Regions from separate parts of the Homo sapiens genome. Here region 1 is linked to region 2. The links are contacts of gene promoters, found by promoter capture Hi-C in blood cells and fetal thymus (Javierre and others, 2016). All regions are on one chromosome and are shown on one strand. The core of a region is centred on a gene start or on the middle of the fragment in contact, and the rest is flanking DNA. Distances in the headings are between cores, read along the strand shown. Region 1 holds the start of ZC3H13 (zinc finger CCCH-type containing 13). Region 2 holds the start of DNAJC15 (DnaJ heat shock protein family (Hsp40) member C15).

Region 1 (5,727 bases), core at 771-3,270, 3.0 Mb after region 2:
CAAACTAAATTCCAAATACAACTGACAGAACTAAGCTGACTACATAGGAATTAGCAAAGCAACACTGCAGTACTATGCAGAAAAAACAATTTGTTAAAAAGACTGTGCACAGAAAACATCCCATGCTGGTAGCTACTCTAAAGTGAAGTAAAAAGAACTGCATCATACAAAAATACAAAAAAAAAAGAATAAAAGACTCTTTCTATATCAACAGCAGTTAATGCTTCAACTACTACTAACAGCTGGAGAAATAGCTCCACCTCTATATGAGATGGAGTTGGGAGAGATGAGGAGGTGAGGAAGACTATCATCCACTGAAAACCAACTCTCTAAGTAAATTTAAGTTAAACAATGTGTTTCCTCTATGTAAATGCCAATGCATATTATAAATACTGATGATATTACAATTTTAATAATTTGTAAAGATGTTAAGATACCATCCACTTGCTGGATTTTTAGTATGTTAAATTCATATTACAAATATGAAAATCACATAAGCTTGCAAATCTCAAAATATGCAATGTTCATTTAGAATGACCAGTAATCAGGAAGCCAGTAAGAGGCATACATTTGATAAAACTGAATCCTACCAGATGCACAGAGTGAAAGCCTTAGTTTCAGAGTGCAACTATTTTTAAAGCCGCAATTGTTACAAGCTTGCATCAACTTTGCTAGTCTCTAGTTGAAACTGTCATCTGTTATAATCTAAATAGTTCATTAAGAAAATAAAAATTATTTGAAAATCTATAGATTGTATTCACAAAACGCTCCAATATATTGTACTAAAGCCAGTAATTTCAAATGTTACAGAACTAGACCCCGCTAACTGGCACCATATACCCATAGACTGAACTGCATAAGTATTTATTCTCCAACGGTATCGCGGACTTCGAAAACTTGAGGTGTAAAGATGTTTTCCAAATTTTTAAAACTACTTTAAAAATCCAAAAATCTTAAGAGACTTCATACTCCCATAATTTTCAAAGTAGTTCGAATTACCTGAAAGCCCCATAGTATAACCAAATACCTTAAGACTACCCTTCACAAACAACATCTTACCAACATAATTCAAGTATTATCAACTCTAAATAATTTTCAAACCACATAAATTGCGTTAGCCTATTACAGAGAGATAATGCCGCCAAACAGACTCTCTTCTTTCTATTCCACTTTCCCCCGTTTCTGACAGTTGCCAAAACTACCTACCTAAGGCTTGTGAAGATAAAGTAGCACTCAATTCCCAGGACCTAAATCGTTATCACTGCTGAGGGAAAAAAAAAAAAACAAGACCAATCACAAGTAAGATGTTTTTCTCTAACAGATCTGGAATGAGTATAGAGGAAGATTCTAAATTTAAGCCCAAATTGCTGCACCCTTCCATCGCACACAAATACGAACACCATACAAGGGTTCCCGTGCTTACATCAAATGGTAACGAGGGGTACAGCCTATTGTCTGAGTCTACTTATCGCCCTTAGACAAATGCCAGAATCATAATCAGAGTGAGAAATTACGCCTGAGCACAGGGGGCTATTGCAGAGTTAAGGGTGGGATGCTCAAGGAAAGCTCAAAATCCCAGTGACTCAAGCAAAGACGGGGGGGGGTAACCCGGGCCTCCGCATTACGGGTCCGCTCAATGCCTTCCCCAGATACCCACACCAATTCACAGAACGCTTACTTCCTCCCCAAGCTCCCTTCGCAAGTGCAGTCCGGAGGCACCACCGCCGCCGCCGCTCCGAGGAGCGGGGGAGGCGACTCTGTCCCCGCGCCTGGACCCAGGAGGACGACGACGAGGAGAAAGCGATGCGCGCGCGGCTCCCGGGAACCGGCTCTTGGCTAGCGAGGAGCCCCCGGGATGGCTGAGAAGCAGAACCAACCCGCCCGCCGCCTCTCCAGGGTCAAGCGAAACTGGGTCGCAGGAAGAAAAATAACGAAGAGATTGTAGATTAAGAAAAGGCAACAAAAACACTACCAGGCCGCTAGGAGGACCGCCTCAAAATGCCGCCGGAAGTCAGAGGTTTGCCCTGTTCCTCTGTAGACCCAGGCAGCTTCCGGCCGTCAGATTAGTCGTCAGTGCGCAGACACCACCCTTCGTGGACACGCCCTCTAGGCGTAAGGTTCCATGCGAGCGGTAAGAGTGCGGCGGGACTTGGAAATCGAATCTGTGCTCTGTGAGAGATCCTAGGAAAGGAAACTGGGAGCCCGGGAGAACTAAAATTCCCAATTAAAAGTGAATTTAAGTGAGTTTTCTCTTTTTATTACATAATTCCTTACCATAAACAGCTGTTGTAAATGCGCAAAATGCGGCATTTGTTGACAGTACCTAGAGCCACTCATTCATTCGTTCAACAGTGTTTATTGAGCAGCTGAGCTGGAATGAGAGGCTATGTTTGTCGTTTTTGACACCCCTCCCCTTTCTGGGCCATCGCCTAATTACCGTGGAGCAAACGGAATGCATGGTTGTATTTCTAAAGGCACAAGCAGAAATTTATTGAAAATTTGGAGCAGAAATCTTTAATGTACTTCTGACCACCCTTCCTTTTGTTGAGTAGGATCCAATGATCAGCGTGAGATGATCATTGATTAAACTTGCTTGAGATGGCTAGTCAAACGTCGAAACTTGCTTGAGATGGCTAGTCAAACGTCGAAAATCAAAGAAAAAGTAGGTAACTAGACTTTTACAATTTTTTTTAAAGGGTAAAAAGACATGAACCCTAGTCTGCCTTAATGGCAAAGTAGCACTTATTAGGTTCTCTGACAGAACCAAGGAATAGGAAAATCTTTTATCAAAACTACGGATAAAACTTAAAAATAATTTGATACAATGATTTGGTCTTGCTGGAATCAGTAAATTAAAATACGGAAGCAGAATGATAAAATCAGGGGCATTAAACATTCCTAATGACATGCCAAGCTATTTTAGAGACAGCGGCAAAAGCTTCTCTACAGGTGGGTTTGATGTAACGCTCCGGCAGCAAGAATCCGTATGTGCCCGTATCTCGAAGTTCAATTGTAAACGAATATTTGATGCCCAAATCATAGATCCAATCGTCCCCACCTCCAGGAGCTAGGTCTAAAAGAAGAAGAAAGAAATTGTTGAAATACAGACGTTTCAAATTAATTTACAAACTGGGAATTGTTTGATTTAAATGTTTATTTGTTTGTATACCTTTAGATTTTTTTCAGTTTTTAACTAATATAAACAACTTTACAATGAGTACCCTTGTTTATACATAATTGCTTCTTTGTCTCTTTAGAATATTCTTCCCTAGAATAGATTTGCTAGTCTAAGGCTCTGTACTTTTTGCAATTACGGCATGTTCCCAAATGGACGTCAAAAGAACTGAATTCATTTATACTTCCACAAGCAGGGTATGAATTTGCCCATTTCCCCTTCCCATACCATCAATAGGAATTATGAATTCTGATAATTTTATGGGCGAAAAATAATATCCAACTGTCTTAATTTATGTTTTTTGATTATCAGTGAGTTGCACATTTGTTTGGCATATTTATTGGCTATCTTTATATTTCCTATCAATTGTCCTTCCTCATTTGTCTACTTGGTTCATTTTATCAATTGCTTATAAAAACGACATTAGTGTTATTAGCTTTGTTTGGCATGTAGACCTTTTTTTCTCCTTTCATTCATTTCTCCTTTCACAAGAATTTTTTCTCCTTACTGAGATTTCAACTTGGTTTATGCAGGGTTTTCATATGAAAATATATGCTGTACCTGGAATTTACTTTGGTGAAAGACATGTTAATAATCCAATTAATTTTTTTCTAGGTAACTTGTTAGGTTTTCCAACCGCATTAATTGAATAATCTGACTTTTTTTGGGGGGGTGCTAAATTGAGTCCAGGTTTATGGCAAAGTCTGACCCAAAATTTTAATTTATAATTTTAGCATCTATCTAATACAGTTTGGGAAGCATCTCATGAAAGCTACAATTGCCAGAAGACTTGTTACAGTTTAATGCATGTTAACTAAAATGTGTACATATTTTAGTGTTCATGATAAATACAGTTTCGACCTTTTTTGAGATGGAGTCTCACTCTGTCACCCAGGCTAGAGTGCAGTTGCACAATCTCAGCTCATTGCCACCCCCACCTCCCAGGTTCAAGTAATTCTTATGCATTAGCCAACCAAGTAGCTGGCATTACAGGCGCCTGCCACCATGCCCAGCTAATTTTTGTATTTTTAGTAGAGACAGGGTTTCACCATGTTGGCCAGTCTGGTCTCGAACTCCTGACCTCAAGTGATCCTCCTGCCTCAGCCTCCCAAAGTGCTGGTATTACAGGCATGAGCCACAGCACCTGGCCTCTTTTTGTTTTTTTCTAATCATTAAAAAAAAAAAAAAAAGGAAAAACCTGGATTTGGCCTTCAGGCTGTAGTTTTCTGATGCCTGGTTACAGGTTTATTTTATGCTCCTCTTTTCCCATCTCCCTTCAAACTTCAAAAGGGCAAAATCAGTCTGTCCTCCCACTGTGTGTAGATAGGAGTTACTCACTAAATATCTTTCAGCAAAAATTAATCAAAACTTTTTGTTAAGAGTTTGTCACAAGTTTTGTGTGTGTAATATATATTAAAGACAATCAACTGTAATGTGTTATGAGCTATACTCTTGGGAACAGGCTAACACTAAAAAACACTTGATGCAAATGGCATGCCCTAGATTAGTGTAGTGTACAACCTGCACAACCTTCCATGGTGGCCCTGGGAATCATGCAAAAGTTTTATGAACTTTTCTGCTTCACTCAACTAGTATGATGCCAATTCTGTAATTCCTACTTGATTGTGATAAATATGATTTCTTAAATAGGATTTTGGCTTCTTTTTAGTAACTCATTTATTAATATAGCTTTGTTCAGCATTGTCATAGCTATTATGCTTCTGTTCCTAATTATTACAATTCAGTTGTATTACATGTGACCCTATTTAATTCAGAAAAATTAAATACACAAAGAAAAACAGATCACACAGATTTCTTTAGTAGCTCAAAGTTCTCTAAGATCATAAGAAGAAATACTTACATAAGGTTTCTGAGCCATGGCCATGTGTATACCTGGTATTTTTACTAATTTTCTCAATAGCACGAACTGCTTCACTGGCTACTAGAGACTGGAAGCAACAAGATATAGAATTTCAGTTAATGTGCAGCTTTGAAACATGACAAGTAGAAGTTTCTAAAAAATAATCATACATTAATTGAATCAAAGTATACAGGTAGAAAATCTAGATTCATCTAAAAGGCAAATAAATAAGGTAAACAAATTAATTTAAAATATGTGCACTTTATGGCAATCACAATTGGGTGGCTTTAAACATAAACTATTTCAATATATTGAAATAATTTATATAAATAAATATATTAATTTGCAGAAAAAAATTATCACATGCCTTTTTGGGAACTCATTTATTATGGAAAATGAAGTATAACTACATCTCAAAGGCTTAGAGGTACTCCATTTCTGAACAAAATTATCACCAAACTTTAAATCCAACCTTTCTAAACACATACAAACACCTAATGCATGCATGACTCACTTCTTATCCTTCTCACAACTTCTATTTTCTTCTTGTGTAAAATGTCTAATGACTTCCATAGATTCATCAAATCAAAAAAGATTATGCCTCTGGTATGGAGCAGGATAATAACTAAGACCCCCATTTGACTTCATTTTGTCTGTTGATATTCATTTTGTCAAATCTATTCTGAAGTTC
Region 2 (6,103 bases), core at 211-2,710:
GGTGTTGATTAGGTCAGATCTCTTTCTCAGTTGTAATTTTGCAATGGCGGTTTAATTCCCAGTCCAGTTCTCTTTATACTGCTATGCAATGCATGTGCTCATGTTCTGGTATGTACTATTATTCTGTGTCAGTGTTATCTTCCCTACAAGATTGTAAATTTCTAGGACCTAACTTCTTAGACATGCTAATAATATTAACTAAGTGAACAAATTAATAGACCCTCAAAACTTTAAATTCAGGAATAGAAAAAAAATAAAGCTTTTTCTTCCTGTCAGCTGATTTTGCAAAGGGTATAAGGAGCCAAAGAGCTGCCACGTTGGTACAGAAGTTGGAAAACACCATACGCTTCAACTGCTGGTTAATTTTTGCTCTAAAAACTTGATGGAGGCCAGGCGCGGTGACTCACGCCTGTAATCTCAGCACTTTGGGAGGCTGAAGCGGGCGGATCACCTGAGGTCAGGAGTTTGAGACCAGCCTGGCCAACATGGTGAAACCTCGTCTCTACTAAAAATACACAAATTAGCCAGGTGTGGTGGCACGTGCCTTTAATCCCAGGTACTCGGGAGGCAGAGGGTGCAGTGAGCCAGAGATTGCGCCACTGCACTCAGCCTGGGCAACAGAGCGAGACTCCATCTCAAAAAAAAAAAAAAGCTTAATAATAAAATGGGCTTTTATATATACAAATCAGCACAAACTCATTTGAGGGAGAGTAAGATTTACCTACTTGCTCACAACTTTTTTTCCCCTGCCTCAGGCTCCTGAGTAGCTGGGATTACAGGGACGCACCACCACACCCAGCTAATCTTTGTATTTTTAGTAGAGACGAGGTTTCACCATGTCGGCCAAGCTGGTGTGATCCACCCGCCTCGGTCTCCCAAAGTGCTGGGATTACAGCGTGAGCCACCGCACCCGGCCACAACTTTCTTCTGTGTAATTTCACCTTAAATACAGCCATTTACTTGGGGGTGGAGTAAGCAAATTGCCTCTTTAATTTCTCTCCCGGGGTGGTAGAACTGTGGCATTAAACAGAAGTGCGAACAGAAGTTGAGAGTGGGAAGAAAGGCTGCCCGGAAGGGGGTCAGGAAAGCTCAGGCAAGCCCACCCTCAGGCACTACAGCTAGACTCCGAGCTTACTGGGCAGTCATCTGATTCGACCAACATCAGTTCGCAGGGCTTAAGCCCAGTCCCTTACGGCGGCCTGGGGAGGGACCAGGCCCAAGTATATAAAGCTCCCTGAGGGTCCGCGTTGGCTTTGCGCCTGTGAGTGTGATTCAAGAACGTCCCAGTGCCCTTGGCTCCTTTCGGAGTGTGACCCCGTGCTTGCACGGGACACGTTACCCAGCTCGGGTGAGAAGGGTATCTTCCGGGAACCTCGCCTTTAATAGCACAACGAGCGCAGAGTCCACTGGATCTGCGAGAAGAAACCGCGCTAACTAGTTTGTCCCTACGGCCGCCTCGTAGTCACTGCCGCGGCGCCTTGAGTCTCCGGGCCGCCTTGCCATGGCTGCCCGTGGTGTCATCGCTCCAGTTGGCGAGAGTTTGCGCTACGCTGAGTACTTGCAGCCCTCGGCCAAACGGCCAGACGCCGACGTCGACCAGCAGAGACTGGTGAGTCCTGCCAGCGGCCCCCACCCCTCTCTGGCTCCCTTGTAGTTTCTGCTTCAGCCCCCTCTACCGCCTCACCCTTGAACCTTTGTACTCCCCCGCATTCGCTCACGGTCTGTGCCCTAGCGCTCACTTGTTCAGTGGAGAGACCGCTTTGTGCTGGGCTTTGACGCCTGGGCGTGGAAGACGGAGCAGTTCTGAGGATCTGTCTCCTCAAGGAGCTTCCAGTCTTGTCTGGGACACAAACCAGAAAACAGGCAATTGCAAATACAGTAAAATAAGTGCTGTATGTGGATTTTCCTATCTCATAGGAGGCCCTAAAAACGTCTTGCAGGGGACGTGGTGGGATCAGGGACGCTTCTTGGAGAAAGCTGTAGTTAAAAATTAAGATCTGAATGAATAAAAACAGTCCATTCAGCAAGGAGAAGGGGAAAAAGTGTTTCGGGTACCAGGACTACTGTCTCCAAAGTCTCCGGCACAGAAACAGGGCCCAGTTGGAAACTCCAAGTGGTGTATTCAGGATGAACTGTAGAGCTGGAAAAAGGAAGGGTCTAACAGAAAACTGTCCAACAGAAGCATATTGTGAGCCACATACGTATTTTTACGTTTTTTTTTTTTTTTTTTTTTTTTGAGACGGAGTCTCGCTCTGTCGCCCAGGCTGGAGTGCAGTGGCGCGATCTCGGCTCACTGCAAGCTCCGCCTCCCGGTTTCAGGCCATTCTCCTGCCTCAGCCTCCCAAGTAGCTGGGACTACAGGCGCCTGCCACCACTCCCGGCTAATTTTTTGTATTTTTAGTAGAGACGGGGGTTTCACCGTGTTAGCCAGGATGGTCTCGATCTGCTTACCTCGTGATCCGCCCGCCTCGGCCTCCCAAAGTGCTGGGATTACAGGCGTGAGCCACCGCGTCCGGCATATTTTTAAGTTTTTTGTAGCCATATTAAACAACTGAAGAGAAACAGGTGGGTTTGATTTTAACCATGTATTTTCTTTAACCTGATATATGCACAGTTGCATGGTAATTTTCAACATTCAATATGAAATATTGCCCAAGTGGTGGTTTAGGCTTGTAATCCCAGCGCTTTAGGAAGCCCAGGCAGGAGGATCACTTGAGGCCATGAGTTTGGAGGACAGCCTGGGCAACACAGGAGACCCCATCTCTGCTAAAAAAAAAAAAAAAAAATTAGCTGGGTGTGGTGGTGTGAGCCTGTAGTCCTAGCTGCTTGGGAGGCTGGGTCGGGAGAATCACTTGAGCCCAGGAGTTGAGGTTATAGTGAGCTATGATTTCGCCACTGCACTCCAGCCTGAGAGACAGAGCTAGACCCTGTCTCCAACAAAGAAAAAAAAATGAGGCAGTAGAGATTTAGAAAGTTTTAAGTAACTGGTCCAGGATCATCCCTGGTAAGTGGCAGATCTACGATTCCAAATGCTACACTTTTTCCCTTATGACTTGCTGACTCCTTAGAAATAAGGATTTCTGGATATAGTATTCAGTGTATGATACAGCTGAACAAGATCAGGCAGAAGTAATCCTTTTGTGGAGAGTCGTAAAAATCCGAGTATCAGGCTTTCAAGGTAGTTGGGAGCTGTGGTAATTGGAAGATAGAACTAATATTGGTGACTTTTACATGTGTAGGTATTTTTACTTGGAAGAGGAGAGAGTTTACAGAATCCAGAGTACCACATAGGAAGCATCTTTAGTAGTCCAGGTACTTGAAGGCTAAAGTGTAGGCCAGTGATTCTCAAACTGTCTGTGTCCTGTAATATCCTGAAATCCTGAAGTCAGATTCATAGACAATAAAATCTACCTGTAAACATAACTTTTAATAATCAATATAATGCTTTAATTGAGACATAAAGGTGAAATATTTTATTAGACAATAACATGTCTACAGGCTGCGAGCGGTGTCTCGCTCCTATAATCCCAGCAATTTGGGAGGCTGAGGTGGGTGGATCACTTGAGTCAGGGGTTCGAGACCAGCCTGGCCAACAGGGCAAAACCGTGTCTCTACTAAAAATACAAAAATTAGCTGGGCATGGTAGCACAAGTCTGTAATTCCAGCTAGTAGGGAGGCTGAGGCAGAAGAATTGCTTGAACCCAGGGGGCAGAGGTTGCAGTGAGCGGAGATCATGCCACTGCACTCCAGCCTGGGCGACAGAGCGAGACTTTGTCTCAAAAAAAAGAAAATAACATGTTAACATGTCTACAATTTAAATATGTAAATACTTAGACATTACTACATTAGAAAACATAATGAAGTAATTATTAGTTGCTGTCATATTACACCAATTTGTAGAATCACTGTGTATGTGACAGCTACCAATGCAAATTGTTTATCAAATGTATTATATTGGCTTTTCAAGTAGCAGAAGGACCATTGTTCTTTACAAACTTATTTCTCCTAAATGGTGAACAATTTCTGGTAAAAACTTGAACAAAACAGTGGAATCTCCCTCAATTTACATGGCACTTGCACTTATGGAAGATTCAGTCTGTACTAAAACAGTGTAATAATGATATATTTATATATAATGAAGTTCTGGACTAAGATTATCATAAACTTTTCACCTACTTAATCTTTTAAAATTGAGGGATGCAAACAGTTTTTTGTTACACAGGCTTGTCTCATATATTTTAGGACTTCTACGATCAATGGTCCCCCATCCACCAAATACCCTCCCTTCTATTCAAATTATTGTGCAACCAAACAGGGCCTCACGTACTTTCAGAATGTCCCTAAGGGGTTGTTCTGCTTCTTTTGGGAGTTGTTGGTCCAGGCAATGACCAATAATGAGGCAGAAGATTGTTGATAATAACTTTAGGGAACTTGGAAGTACTGAAAGCAATGAGAAGCTGACAAAAGGTAAATATTAGGAAAGAAAAAAAAATGGCCTAGGTGTAGGGCATATTTGGAAATCTTATGGAAAATAGAAAATAATGTTTGTCAATGAGTTAAAGAAAAACTTTCACACTGTATTTTAAAAATGTAATTCATTTTAAGGTTTATGAAATATATCTTGTTGGGCTGGACATGGTGGCTCATGCCTGTAATTCTAGCAATTTGGAAGGTCAGGTGGGAGAATTACTTGAGCCCAGGGGTTCAAGACCCAGGGTGGGCAACATAGTGAGACCCCTGTCTTTCTAAAAGAAAAATCAAAAAGAAATAAATATATCTTGTCATATTTGTTAAATAACTTTTTCTTAGGTAAGCTTCTCTTTTGAAACTAAGAACTAATGTTCATTAGCCTGCTTAGGAGATTAAAATAATTTTTAAAAATAGGCAAAATATGTAGCATCTTGAATAAAGTTAGCATTTTACAATTAATGGTTTAATAGAAGTCATAATCAAACTTTGCACTAGCAAAGCTGTTTCTCATGGAAAAGTAGAAAAGAAACTTTAAGAGATTATTATCAAATTTTAAAGCAGTTTGAACAAAACTCAGTTTGTATGAAACGGTAGTCATTTAGTTTCCATTACTTTCCTGAAAACTGTAACTCTTACTTTTATTTTTCTTCAATTTTTATTTTAAGTTCCGGGGTACATGTGCTAGATGTGCAGGTTTGTTACACAGGTAAATGTGTGCCGTGGTGGTTTGCTGCACAGATTGTCTCATCACCTAGGTATTAAGCCCAGCATGCATTAGCTATTCTTCCTGATGCTCTCCCTCCTCCCACCCCCACAACTCTTGTTATTATTAGGATAGTGTAACATGTAAAAAAAACTAGACACATATATGTTTCATTATAAACAATCCTGATACGTGAAAACTAAAACCTGTCAAACTAATTTTCAGGCATTTATTCATTTCCAAAAATAAGACAGTACTTTTACTATTTTGCAATGATAACATGATTTAAAACATGTTTTAACAATACTTTGAAGCTTACATTGGTAATCACATGGATTATGTACTGTATACCCATATTTTTAACTTTTTTTTTTTTGAGATGGAGTCTTGCTCTGTTGCCCAGGCTGGAATGCAATGGCGGGATCTCGGCTCACTGCAGCCTCTGCCTCACAGGTTCACCTGAGTCTCCTGCCTCAGCCTCCCAAGTAGCTGGGACCACAGGCGCCTGCCACCACGCCCAGCTAATTTTTGTATTTTCAGTAGAGATAGGGTTTCCCCATGTCAGCCAGGCTGGTCTCAAACTCCTGACCTCAAGCGATCCACCCTCCTCAACCTCCCGAAGTGCTGGGATTTCAGGGGTGAGCCACCGCACCCGGCCTAACTGATTCTTTCCCACTGTTTTTTACACCATAATGGGAGGCTAGAATGTTAAGTTTCATGGACAGGGACTTTATTTGTTCTCTGGTATGTATTTCTAGCATTTATAATGGTGCCTGATGTGTGGTAAACATTCCAAAAAGAAATTGTTGAATGAATGAATGTTATTCTTGAATGGGAAGAAATGAGAAGAACTTTTCTTTCAGTGAATGGAGTAAGAATTTCCAGATGTCTACCAGTGAGTACCATACACAAAAATAGAAAATTCAGCTT

Evidence for each region. Contacts are between HindIII fragments. The CHiCAGO score rates a contact against its expected background, and 5 or more counts as called.
Region 1: the fragment with the promoter of ZC3H13 here is called in contact with the fragment with the promoter of DNAJC15 in region 2 in 1 of 17 cell types (naive CD8 T cells); the score reaches 6.6 in naive CD8 T cells.

What each region holds. Positions count from the first base shown.
Region 1 is chr13:46,050,726-46,056,452 of GRCh38, forward strand. It overlaps ZC3H13 (zinc finger CCCH-type containing 13), which reads right to left and starts at 2,021. Exons shown (of 19, transcript NM_001330564.2): 1 at 1,679-2,021. It overlaps CPB2 (carboxypeptidase B2), which reads right to left. Exons shown (of 11, transcript NM_001872.5): 10 at 5,037-5,124; 11 at 2,461-3,073. The coding sequence ends at 2,889. It overlaps CPB2-AS1 (CPB2 antisense RNA 1), which reads left to right and starts at 2,123. Exons shown (of 3, transcript NR_046227.1): 1 at 2,123-2,240. RefSeq lists enhancers at 1,205-1,741, 1,742-2,277, 1,807-1,976, 1,987-2,186. The HindIII fragment of the contact is 2,282 bases long and covers 655-2,936 here.
Region 2 is chr13:43,022,126-43,028,228 of GRCh38, forward strand. DNAJC15 (DnaJ heat shock protein family (Hsp40) member C15) reads left to right here and starts at 1,461. Exons shown (of 6, transcript NM_013238.3): 1 at 1,461-1,609. The coding sequence starts at 1,502. RefSeq lists enhancers at 1,280-1,339, 1,350-1,399, 1,910-1,959. The HindIII fragment of the contact is 4,162 bases long and covers 651-4,812 here.